Regions from separate parts of the Homo sapiens genome. Here region 1 is linked to region 2. Evidence: promoter capture Hi-C in human tissues and cell types (Jung and others, 2019). All regions are on one chromosome and are shown on one strand. Each heading gives the region's core, a stretch centred on a gene start or on the middle of the fragment in contact. The rest is flanking DNA. Distances are from core to core; before and after follow the strand shown. Region 1 has its middle 22 kb from the start of NLRP12. Region 2 holds the start of CACNG6 (calcium voltage-gated channel auxiliary subunit gamma 6).

Region 1 (5,265 bases), core at 2,683-5,182, 140 kb before region 2:
ATTTATTTTATGCACAGAATAACTTTGCAAAGAGGAATGACTTTTTATTTGTTCCAGATTCTAAAATAATCTATGCAGTCTTCCGTGCAGGTTGAGATACTTAAAACTCTATCGGCAAAGGCCGGGTGTGGTGGCTCATACCTGTAATCCCAGCACTTTGGGAGGCTGAGATGGGCGGATCACGAGGTCAGGAGATCGAGACCATCCTGGCTAACACAGTGAAACCCGGTCTCCACTAAAAATACAAAAAATTAGCCTAGGAGGCAGAGCTTGCAGTGAGCTTGCAGATCATGCCACTGCACTCCAGCCTGGGTGACAGAGTGAGATTCCATCTCAAAACAAAACAAAACAAAACAAAAACTATCGGCAAAGTCACAGCCATGGCTAATTATCATACGTTTGTTCAGCAAATTCACCTTCTTTTTGCAAACATAATTTACACCGTTTAATCGGGAATTTTACACAAAAAAAAAGATTCTAGAAAACATAGCTGTCCATAACTGTCATGGTTTCCAGGTTGCAAGTTCATAATCATTTGAATTATTCAAATGAGTCTCTAAATGCTACAAAAATAATGTCTTCTACAATGACAAGTTATGGAATAAATATATAGTTGATCCTAATTTCAGGACACTTGGTATGTAAATATTTGCTCACGTTTTTCTTTGATACGTACACAAAGACTAATGAGTAAACCTGTGCTCACTTATGTCATAGCTGCTTGAAGGTTTTTGTTTTGTTTTGTTTTGTTTTTTTTGAGACCGAGTCTTGCTGTGTCACCCAGGCTGGAGTGCAGTGGCATGATCTCGGGTCACTGCAAGCTCCGCCTCCTGGGTTCACACCATTCTCTTGCCTCAGCCTCCCGAGTAGCTGGGACTACAGGTGCCCGCCACCACGCCTGGCTTTTGTGTGTGTGTGTGTGTGTGTGTGTGTGTGTGTGTGTGTGTGTGTGTTAAAAGAGACGGGGTTTCACCATGTTACTCAGGATGGTCTCGATCTCCTGACCTCGTGATCTGCCCACCTTGGCCTCCCAAAGTGCTGGGATTACAGGTGTGAGCCACCGTGCCCAGCCGAAGTTTTGTTTTTTGTGTTTTTTTTTAATTTAAGCAAACATATGGTTTTTGTTTTTTATTTATTTGTTTTTGAGACAGGGTCTTGCTCTGTTGTCCAGGCTGGAGGGCAGTGGCAAGATCACAGTTCACTGCAGCCTCAACCTTCCAGGTTCAAGCAATCCTCCCACTTCAACCCCCCAGCTGGCTGGAATTACAGGTGCACACCACTATGCCCAACTAATCTTTGTATCTTTTTGTAGAGACGGGGTCTTACTATGTTGCCCAGGCTGAAATATATGTATTTTAAGGAAAGGATGAAGTAAATAGTATTTTAGTATATAAATAAGAGTTGAGTATCCTTTATCCAAAATGCTTGGGGCCAGAAGCGTTTCGGATTTCTGATTTTTCAGATTTTGGAATAATTGCATATAACCACAACAACCAACATTTACTGAGCACCACGTACTGTGTGTCAGGCAATGATCTGAGCCCTTTACATGCATTAAGTTACGTAATCACTCAACAACCCACGAGGTGTGTATTGTCATCAGTTTCGGTCCACAAAGGGGAAGCAGAGCGGAGAGGAAACCTGCGCAGGAGTGCGCCCAATACCTTTTGCTGTGTAACAAGCCTTCCCCTCCTGTGAAAGGGCCCTATGTGCAAAGCAGCCCCCAAATACACATGGAGTTAAGAAACTGAAGAATGAGGCAAATCCAGGTTATCAATATAAAGTTTCATTTTCTTCTTCTTTATTTGAGATGGAGTCTTGCCCTGACGCCTGGGCTGGAGTGCAATGGTGCGATCTCGGCTCACTGCAACCTCCACCTCCCGGGTTCAAGAGATTCTTCTGCCTCAGACTCCTGAGTAGCTGGGATTACAGGCGCCCACCACCACGCCCAGCTAATTTTTGTATTTTTAGTAGAGATGGGGTTTCGCCATGTTGGCCAGGCTGGTCTCGAACTCCTGACCTCAGGTGATCCGCCCCGCCTCGGCCTCCCAAAGTGCTGGGATTATAGGCATGAGCCACGGTGCCCAGCCCCTCCCTCCTTTCCTTCCTTCCTTCCTTCCTACCTTCCTTCCCTCCCTCCCTCCCTTCTTTCTCTCTTTCTTCTTTTTGTGGAGAAGGAGTCCTGCTCTTTTGCCCAGGCTGGAGTGCAATGGCGCGATCTTGGCTCACTGCAACCTCCACCTGCCAGGTTTGGCGATTCTCCTGCCTCAGCCTCCCGAGTAGCTGGGACCACAGGCACCCACCATCACGGCACGGCCAACTAATTTTTGTATTTTTAGTAGAGATGGGGTTTCACCATATCGGTCAGGCTGGGTCTGGAAATCCTGACCTTGTGATCCGCCCGCCTCGGCCTCCCAAAGTGCTGGGATTGCAGGCGTGAGCCACTGCGCCCGCCTAGTTCCTGTTCTGAAGTTTTTAATAAACTTTCACTAATGCTCTAAAGCTTGCCTTGGTCTCTCCTGCCTTATTCCCCCAGTGGAATTCTTTCTTCTGAAGAGGCAAAAATGGAAGTTGCTGCAGACTCATACGCATTCTCCGCTGCTAACATACTTTGGTGCTCTGTGACTCAGATACTTTCCCTACTGACATTCAAGTACAATAAATAAAATAAAATAAAATAAAAGAATGGTAGGTCTCATCCGAAGGCTCTAGGAGAAAATCAGATTAAAAAAAGAAAGAGGCCGGGCGCGGTGGCTCACGCCTGTAATCCTGTAATCACTTTGGGAGGCCGAGGCGGGCAGATCACGAGGTCAGGAGATCGAGACCATCCTGGCTAACACAGTGAAACCCCGTCTCTACTAAAAATACAAAAAAATTAGCCGGGCGCGGTGGCGGGCACGTGTAGTCCCAGCTACCGGGAGGCTGAGGCAGGAGAATGGCGTGAACCCGGGAGGCGGAGCTTGCAGTGAACCGAGATTGCACCACTGCACTCCAGCCTGGGTGACAGAGCGAGACTCCGTCTCAAAAAATAATAATAATAAATAAATAAATAGAAAAAAGAAAAAATAGGCCGGGTGTGGTGGCTCACACCTATAACCCCAGCACTTTGGGAGGCCAAGGCAGTCAGATCACTTGAGGCCAGGCGTTCAAGACCAGCCTGGCAAACATGGTAAGACCCTCTGCTAAAAATTTAGCCAGACATGGTGGCATTCACCTGTAATCCCAGCTACTTGGGAGGCTGAGGCCCCAAATCGCAGGAGGTGGAGGTTGCAGTGAGCCGAGATCGTGCCACTGCACTTCAGCTTGGGCAACAGAGCCAGACCCTACCTAAAAAAAAAAAAAAGTTGATATTCTATGTATAATATACTATATTCTTACAATAAAGGAAGCTAGAGAAAAGAAAATGTTATCAAGAAAATCAGTGTGCGGCCGGGCACAGTGGCTCACGCCTGTAATCTCAGAACTTTGGGAGGCCGAGGTGGGTGGATCACGAGGTCAGGAGTTCGAGACCAGCCCTTATCAACATGGTAAAACCCCATTTCTAATAAAAATACAAAAATTAGCTGGGCCTGGTGGCACGCGCCTGTAATCCCAGCTACTCAGGAGGCTGAGGCAGGAGAATCGCTTGAACCTGGGAGGTGGAGTTTGCAGTGAGCTGAGATTGCGCCACTGCACTCCAGCCTGGGCCACAGAGTGACACTCCATCTCAAAAAAAAAAAAAAAAAAAAGAAAGAAAATCATAAGAAGGAGAAAGTAGTATATTCACTGTTCATTAAGTATAAGTGGATCATCATAAAGGTGTTCATCTTCATCATCTTCAGGTTGAGTAGGCTGAGGAGGAAGAGGAAGAGGAAGGCTGTCTCCGGGTGGCAGAGGAGGAAGAAAATCCCTGGATAAGTGGACCCACGCAGTTCGGACCCGTGTTGTTCAAGGATCAACTGTATACACGCTTATATTTCTCAAAAACACCCTATGAGTTCAGAGCTTGCCAGATGTAGAGGACCTCACAGTTGACAACCTGAGTGACAGCTGTCAACTCATGTGTCCTATGTCTCCCCGGTATTTATGGAGAGCCCAGCTGGGCTCCATAACCCAGTCCTTGGGGATCTGTTTCCCAAATGCCTCTCTCCAAACGTTGCCGGCTGCCAGATCTCATGTTTTACTCCTCTTCCCCTCGTTCACTCTCCTCCAGCACAGCGTTCATTTTACTCTTTTTAGAACAGGCAAAACACACTCCCACCTCCAGGCATCCGGATCTGCTATTCCCTCCACCAGAGATGCTCTCCTTGGAGGCATGCGGGCCCCACATCAAGCACTGTCTCTGGAGAGGCTTTCTCTCGTCACCTCTCCTAGAATTGCATTGGTTACTCCTGCTCTCATGCCCAGCTTTTTTTCTTTATCACACACGTCACTGTCTGACATAGTGTGACATGTCTGTGTGTTCCTGTGGGTAATTATTGGTCTTCCCTTAAAGTGCAGGAATGCCATGAGGACAGGGACTTTTTTTGTTTTTGTTTTAAGACAGGGTCTGTCTCTATCACCCAGGCTGGAGGGCAGTGATGTGATCACTGCTCACTGCAGCCTTAACTTCCCTGGGTTCAAGCAATTCTCCCATCTCAACCTCCCGAGTAGCTGGGACCACAGGCACATGCCATCATGCCCGGCTAATGTTTGTATCTTTTTTTTGTAGAGACAGGGTCTTGTCATGTTGGCCAGGCTGGTTTCGAACTCCTGGCTTCAGGTGAACCACTGCCTCGGCCTCCCAAAGTGCTGGGATTACAGGCATGAGTCACCATGTCTGGCTAAGGGGACTTTGTTCTTTTTTTTTTTTTTTCCGGAGACAGTCTCACTCTGTCACCCAGGCTGGAGCGTGCAGTGCTGTGATCTCGGCTCACTGCAACCCTCTGCCTCCCGGGTTCAAGCGATTCTCCCGCTTCAGCCTCCCGAGTAGCTGGGACTACAGGCGTGCACCACCACACTCAGCTCAGTTTTTGTATTGTTAGTAGAGACGGGGGTTTTGCCATGTTGCCCGGGCTGGTCTTGAACACCTGGGCTCAAGTGATCCTCCCACCTCGGCCTCCCAAAATGCTGGGATTACAGGTATGAGCCACCACGCCCGGCCTAGAGGACTTTATTTTCTTCATGGCTGTATCTGCAGTGCCCGTCTGTAACAGGGCACAATGCACTCTAGGATACTTGCCGAGTGAGGGAATTTCCCATTAGCTAGTGTAGCTTCATTTCTCCTGCTGCAGCCCATGCAAGACC
Region 2 (4,718 bases), core at 1,857-4,356:
CAGAGGTTGCAGTGAGCCAAGATCACACCACTGCACTCTAGCCTGGGTGACAGAGCAAGACTCTGTCTCAAAAAAGAAAAAAGGTAAAAAAAAAAAAAAATGACCCTGAAAGGAAGTAGGGAGACATGCAGATAGGGAGATGGGAGGCAGAAAATTGCATCCTGCAATTAGCTGTCACAGCAGGCAGGAGCAAGAGAGATGGGGAAGCCCAGGGCCAGGAGGGGAAGATGAATTCAGGGGGCAGGGAAGAGAGGATGCTGTCAGCTAGGCTCTGGCAGATCCCCTAGCCAGGGATGCTCTGCCCAGCTCCTGTCTCTTGCTGCTGTCAGCGCCGGGCACACTCTGGGATTCCCCCTGTAGACCCTGTCAAGACCTATTGAGGTGAAGGGGAAGAACACGTTTTCATCATTCATTTTCAGAAATAAACATTCACTCAGTTCTTGGAAATACTTTCTGGCCAGGCTTGGGGGCTCATGCCTGTAATCCCAGCACTCTGGGAGGCCAAGACAGGAGGATTGCTTGAGGCTTGGCGTTTGAGACCAGCCTGGGCAATATAGTAAGACCCCGTCTCTACAAAAATGAAAAATGAGCTGTGGCGTGGTGGCTCACGCCTGTAGTCCTAGATACTCGGGAGGCTGAGGCGGGAGGATTGCTTGAGTCCAGGAGTTTAAGGTTGCAGTGAGCTATGATTGCACCATTGCACTTCAGGCTGGGCCACAGAGCAAGACCCTGTCTCAGAAAACAGAAAGAAAGAAAGTCAAAGAAATAAAGTCAAAGACAAGAAGGTGATACAGAGAAGACAGAAAAGGAGGAGGAGAGAGACTGACAGGTACACAAATCAGAGAAGTCCCAGAGATAACAAAAACACAACCACAGAGATAGGGAGACGTAAGCCGGAGAAAGACCCAGAGATTCGCATAGAAAGCAACGTGGAGACTCAGAAGCAAGCACAGCATCAAGGAATGATCAATAAAAAGAAAAAAAAATATTTCCTGAGGACTTCCAAGTACAAGGCCCTGCAATCTCAGGCCACTTCTGTCCCATCTCTGCCTTCAGAGGGGGGGACAGGTAGTCCAGACAATTAGAATACAGAGGGGGCTGTGTTCTGACGGGGCCACGCGGGCATTGAGGAAACGCAGCAGGCCCCTCCCCTAGCTGGGGCGGGGATGTCTGTGTGCCATCATCTCACTCCATCTGGTCATTCCTTTGCCCATTCATCCATCCATTCATTCAAGTCACCCCATGCACATTTTCCAAGACTGCCTGTGACCTGGCCCTGTGCCGGGTAGAGCTGAGGATGCCAAGGTGAATTCCTCCTGTGCCTGGCCCCGGCCCCAGTCTGCTGGAAGAACCAGACACAGACAATCACACTGCGGGGAAACACGTGCTCCATCGGAAAAGTCCAGAGCAGGGGGTGGGCAGAGAGGCCCAGCGTGCACCAGAGCCTCGCTCAGGTCAGCGCCAGGCCTGCCTGGAGCAGCCAACTGTGGGAGAAGAAGGAGTTGGTGAAAGGTGGGTCCCACCTGGGCCGTCCACAGAAGGGCTGAGGGGTAGGGGGTGAGGGGTTGAAGATCAGGCCCTGCCGCCATGCCACACGGCTGTCCTCTGTCCCTGCTCCTGGGGGAGCTGAAACTGCATGGAAGGTCCCCCAGGGGTGCCCCGTCTAATAAACTCGATGAAGAGGAGTGCTGCTTTCATTCTGTGCCCCTGACAGCCGGCCCTGCCCTGAGGCCTGCGCTTTCTCCAACATGGAAATCAGGCCTTCCATCCTTCAAGACCCAGGGTTCTGGCCCCAGTCTCCTCCCTGAGGCCCAGGACTCTGGGTCTGCCAACGCCTTGACCAGGAGTCCAGGCTCCCCGGCCCTCCTCCTCCCTCAGACCCAGGAGTCCAGGCCCAGCCCCTCCTCCCTCAGATCCAGGAGTCCAGGCCCCCTGCCCCCTCCTCCCTCAGACCCAGGAGTCCAGGCCCAGGCCTTCCTCCCTCAGACCCAGGAGCCCAGGCCCCCAGCCCCTCCTCCCTCAGACCCAGGAGCCCAGGCCCCCAGCCCCTCCTCCCTCAGACCCAGGAGCCCAGGCCCCCAGCCCCTCCTCCCTCAGACCCAGGAGTCCAGGCCCCCAGCCCCTCCTCCTTCAGACCCAGGAGTTCAGGCCCCAGTCCCTCCTCCCTCAGACCCAGAAGTCCAGGCCCCCAGCCCCTCCTCCCTCAGACTCAGGAGCCCAGGCCCCCAGCCCCTCCTCCCTCAGACCCAGGAGTCCAGGCCCCAGCCCCTCCTCCCTCAGACCCAGGAGTCCAGACCCCCAGCCCCTCCTCCCTCAGACCCAGGAGCCCAGGCCCCCAACCCCTCCTCCCTCAGACCCAGGAGTCCAGGCCCCCAGCCCCTCCTCCCTCAGACCCAGGAGTCCAGGCCCCCAGCCCCTCCTCCTTCAGACCCAGGAGTTCAGGCCCCAGTCCCTCCTCCCTCAGACCCAGAAGTCCAGGCCCCAGTCCCTCCTCCCTCAGACTCAGGAGCCCAGGCCCAGCCCCTCCTCCCTCAGACCCAGGAGTCCAGACCCCAGCCCCTCCTCCCTCAGACCCAGGAGTTCAGGCCCCCAGCCCCTCCTCCCTCAGACTCAGGAGCCCAGGACCTAGGAGACCAGGTTCCTCTCCTCTCAGATCCAAGATTCTGGGTACCCAGGCCTTCTTCCTCTACCACTCAGAAGTGGGGTACCGAGGCTTCTTCTCCCTTAGGGACCCAAGACTCCTGGCCTCAGGCCCTCCTCCCTGAGACCCGGGGCCCTGCCTCCCGCCCCTCCTCCCTGGTAACCCCAGTCAGACTTGCTGCCCCGCCCGTCTCCTGCTGCCCGGGAGACTGCGGAGCTGGGACTCTCGGCGCCGCTCTTGCCCCTTAGTGAAATGAAAGTCCCATCAGGCTCGGCCCCTTCCTCCCCGGGCGGCCTCCCTCCCCCCTTCCTCGTCCCCTTAAAACACCCGGGATCCCTATGGCAACAGGCGCCGGGCGACAGGTGCGGGTGTTATTTACGGGTCAAGCCCGAAATAGCCCCGAGGGTGGAGGGTGGAGGGTGGGGGGTGGGCGGGTGGGGACGAGGCCGGGCGCGGGCGGAGGCCAGGCCGGTGGCGGTGGCGGGCACAGCCGGACGCTTCGGAGGCAGCGCGGAGCTGGGGTCGGCGCGGGGCCGAGGCAGGAGAGCGAGAGGGGCCCCTGCTCGGGAGTCGGGGGTGGGAGCCCCGAGGGGGGGCCCTGGCCTGGGGCTGAGCCTGGCGCGAACCCGACCGGGAAGGCCCTGGGAGCCCGGGGGAGGGAGACGGACTGATCCCGAAGGGGCGCAGCGTCTCTTGCGGGTCGCGGTTGGCCTTTGAACCCTGGGGGGACTCAGTCCTGGTTTTCCGAGCCGCAGTGCGGACCACAGCCCCATAGTGTGAGCCCCAGGAGGGCCCCCGGTCCCATCTGCCCCAGCCCTCGGGGAGGCCCCGTAGCCTCCCGCCTCTGGACTCCACTCTGTCTTCCGGCCACCGGCCCCTTTTCCAGGCTCAGTAGAGACCTCGGATCTTTTCTGAATGGCAGGGGAGACCCCTATCCCCTTTTCCTGAATTCCAGCGAGGCCCAGTCCTCTTCTGAGCCCCAGCCAGGGCTCTGTTCTTCTCCTTCTGTGGATGCCGGGGTCCTACTGCCTCTCTTGAGACCCGGATTGAATTCCGACCTCCCCTTGGGAGCTTCCCGGGACCCCAGGTCTTCCTTTTCCGAATCCCAGAGGGTCCCCAAGTCCTCTGTTCTCAAACTCTGAGCCCAAGGGAACCCCGGCCACATCTCCTCCAAACACACACAGGACCTCAGGTCCCTTCCTGGGTACCCCAAACTCTTAGCCCTAGTGGGGTGCTCAGATCTCTCAGGAAAACCAGTTTCCCTTTTGTTAACCCCCCAGCGGGGACCCCAAAGCAGCCCCTTGGAGCTGCAGGGAGCTTCAGCGGGCACCAGTTCTCATTCCTCTGGAGCTCTTGGGGGGACTCCCTCCTGGGAAGCCGAATTCTATCTCTAAACCTCAGGGTGGGGGCCTTGTTTTTCCTCTGGGCCCCGTCTTCTTTGCCAAGTTCTTGAGGGCAACCTAGACCCTCCTCTGAACCCCAGAGGCTTCCCCAGCCCTGGGGATCATTTTTCTCTTCTGAACCCCAGAAGCAATCTCGACTTTCGCATTTGAGATTCCAGACAGGACTCGGCTCTCCCTCTTTCATACCCAGGGGAAACTGAGTCCCTCACCCCCTTCAAGACCCCAGGCCGCTCCTCGCTCCCGCCCCTCGAGGCCCTTCGCCGGCTCTGCCTCCTCCCCCTTCCCGACCCCACCGGCCATAAGATGATGTGGTCCAACTTCTTCCTGCAAGAGGAGAACCGGCGGCGGGGGGCCGCGGGCCGGCGGCGGGCGCACGGGCAGGGCAGGTCGGGGCTGACGCCCGAGCGCGAGGGGAAGGTGAAGCTGGCGCTGCTGCTGGCCGCCGTGGGCGCCACGCTGGCGGTGCTGTCCGTGGGCACCGAGTTCTGGGTGGAGCTCAACACCTACAAGGCCAACGGCAGCGCCGTGTGCGAAGCGGCCCACCTGGGGCTGTGGAAGGCGTGCACCAAGCGGCTGTGGCAGGCGGACGTGCCCGTGGACAGGGACACCTGCGGCCCCGCGGAGCTGCCCGGAGGTGAGCAGCCGCCGCCCCGAGCGCAGGGCTTGCGTCCCAC

The links. Contacts are between HindIII fragments. The study calls those that stand out against the background at their distance.
Region 1: a contact is called between a fragment that was not itself captured here and the fragment with the promoter of CACNG6 in region 2, in 2 of the 25 tissues and cell types used here (neural progenitor cells and spleen).

What each region holds. Positions count from the first base shown.
Region 1 is chr19:53,843,455-53,848,719 of GRCh38, forward strand. No RefSeq gene overlaps it. Among named protein-coding and RNA genes, the nearest start is that of NLRP12, 22 kb to the left of the region's middle. The HindIII fragment of the contact is 5,768 bases long and covers 1,049-5,265 here.
Region 2 is chr19:53,988,531-53,993,248 of GRCh38, forward strand. It overlaps CACNG6 (calcium voltage-gated channel auxiliary subunit gamma 6), which reads left to right and starts at 3,107. Exons shown (of 4, transcript NM_145814.2): 1 at 3,107-4,678. The coding sequence starts at 4,348. It overlaps CACNG8 (calcium voltage-gated channel auxiliary subunit gamma 8), which reads left to right. Exons shown (of 4, transcript NM_031895.6): 4 at 1-1,685. The HindIII fragment of the contact is 43,229 bases long and covers 1-4,718 here.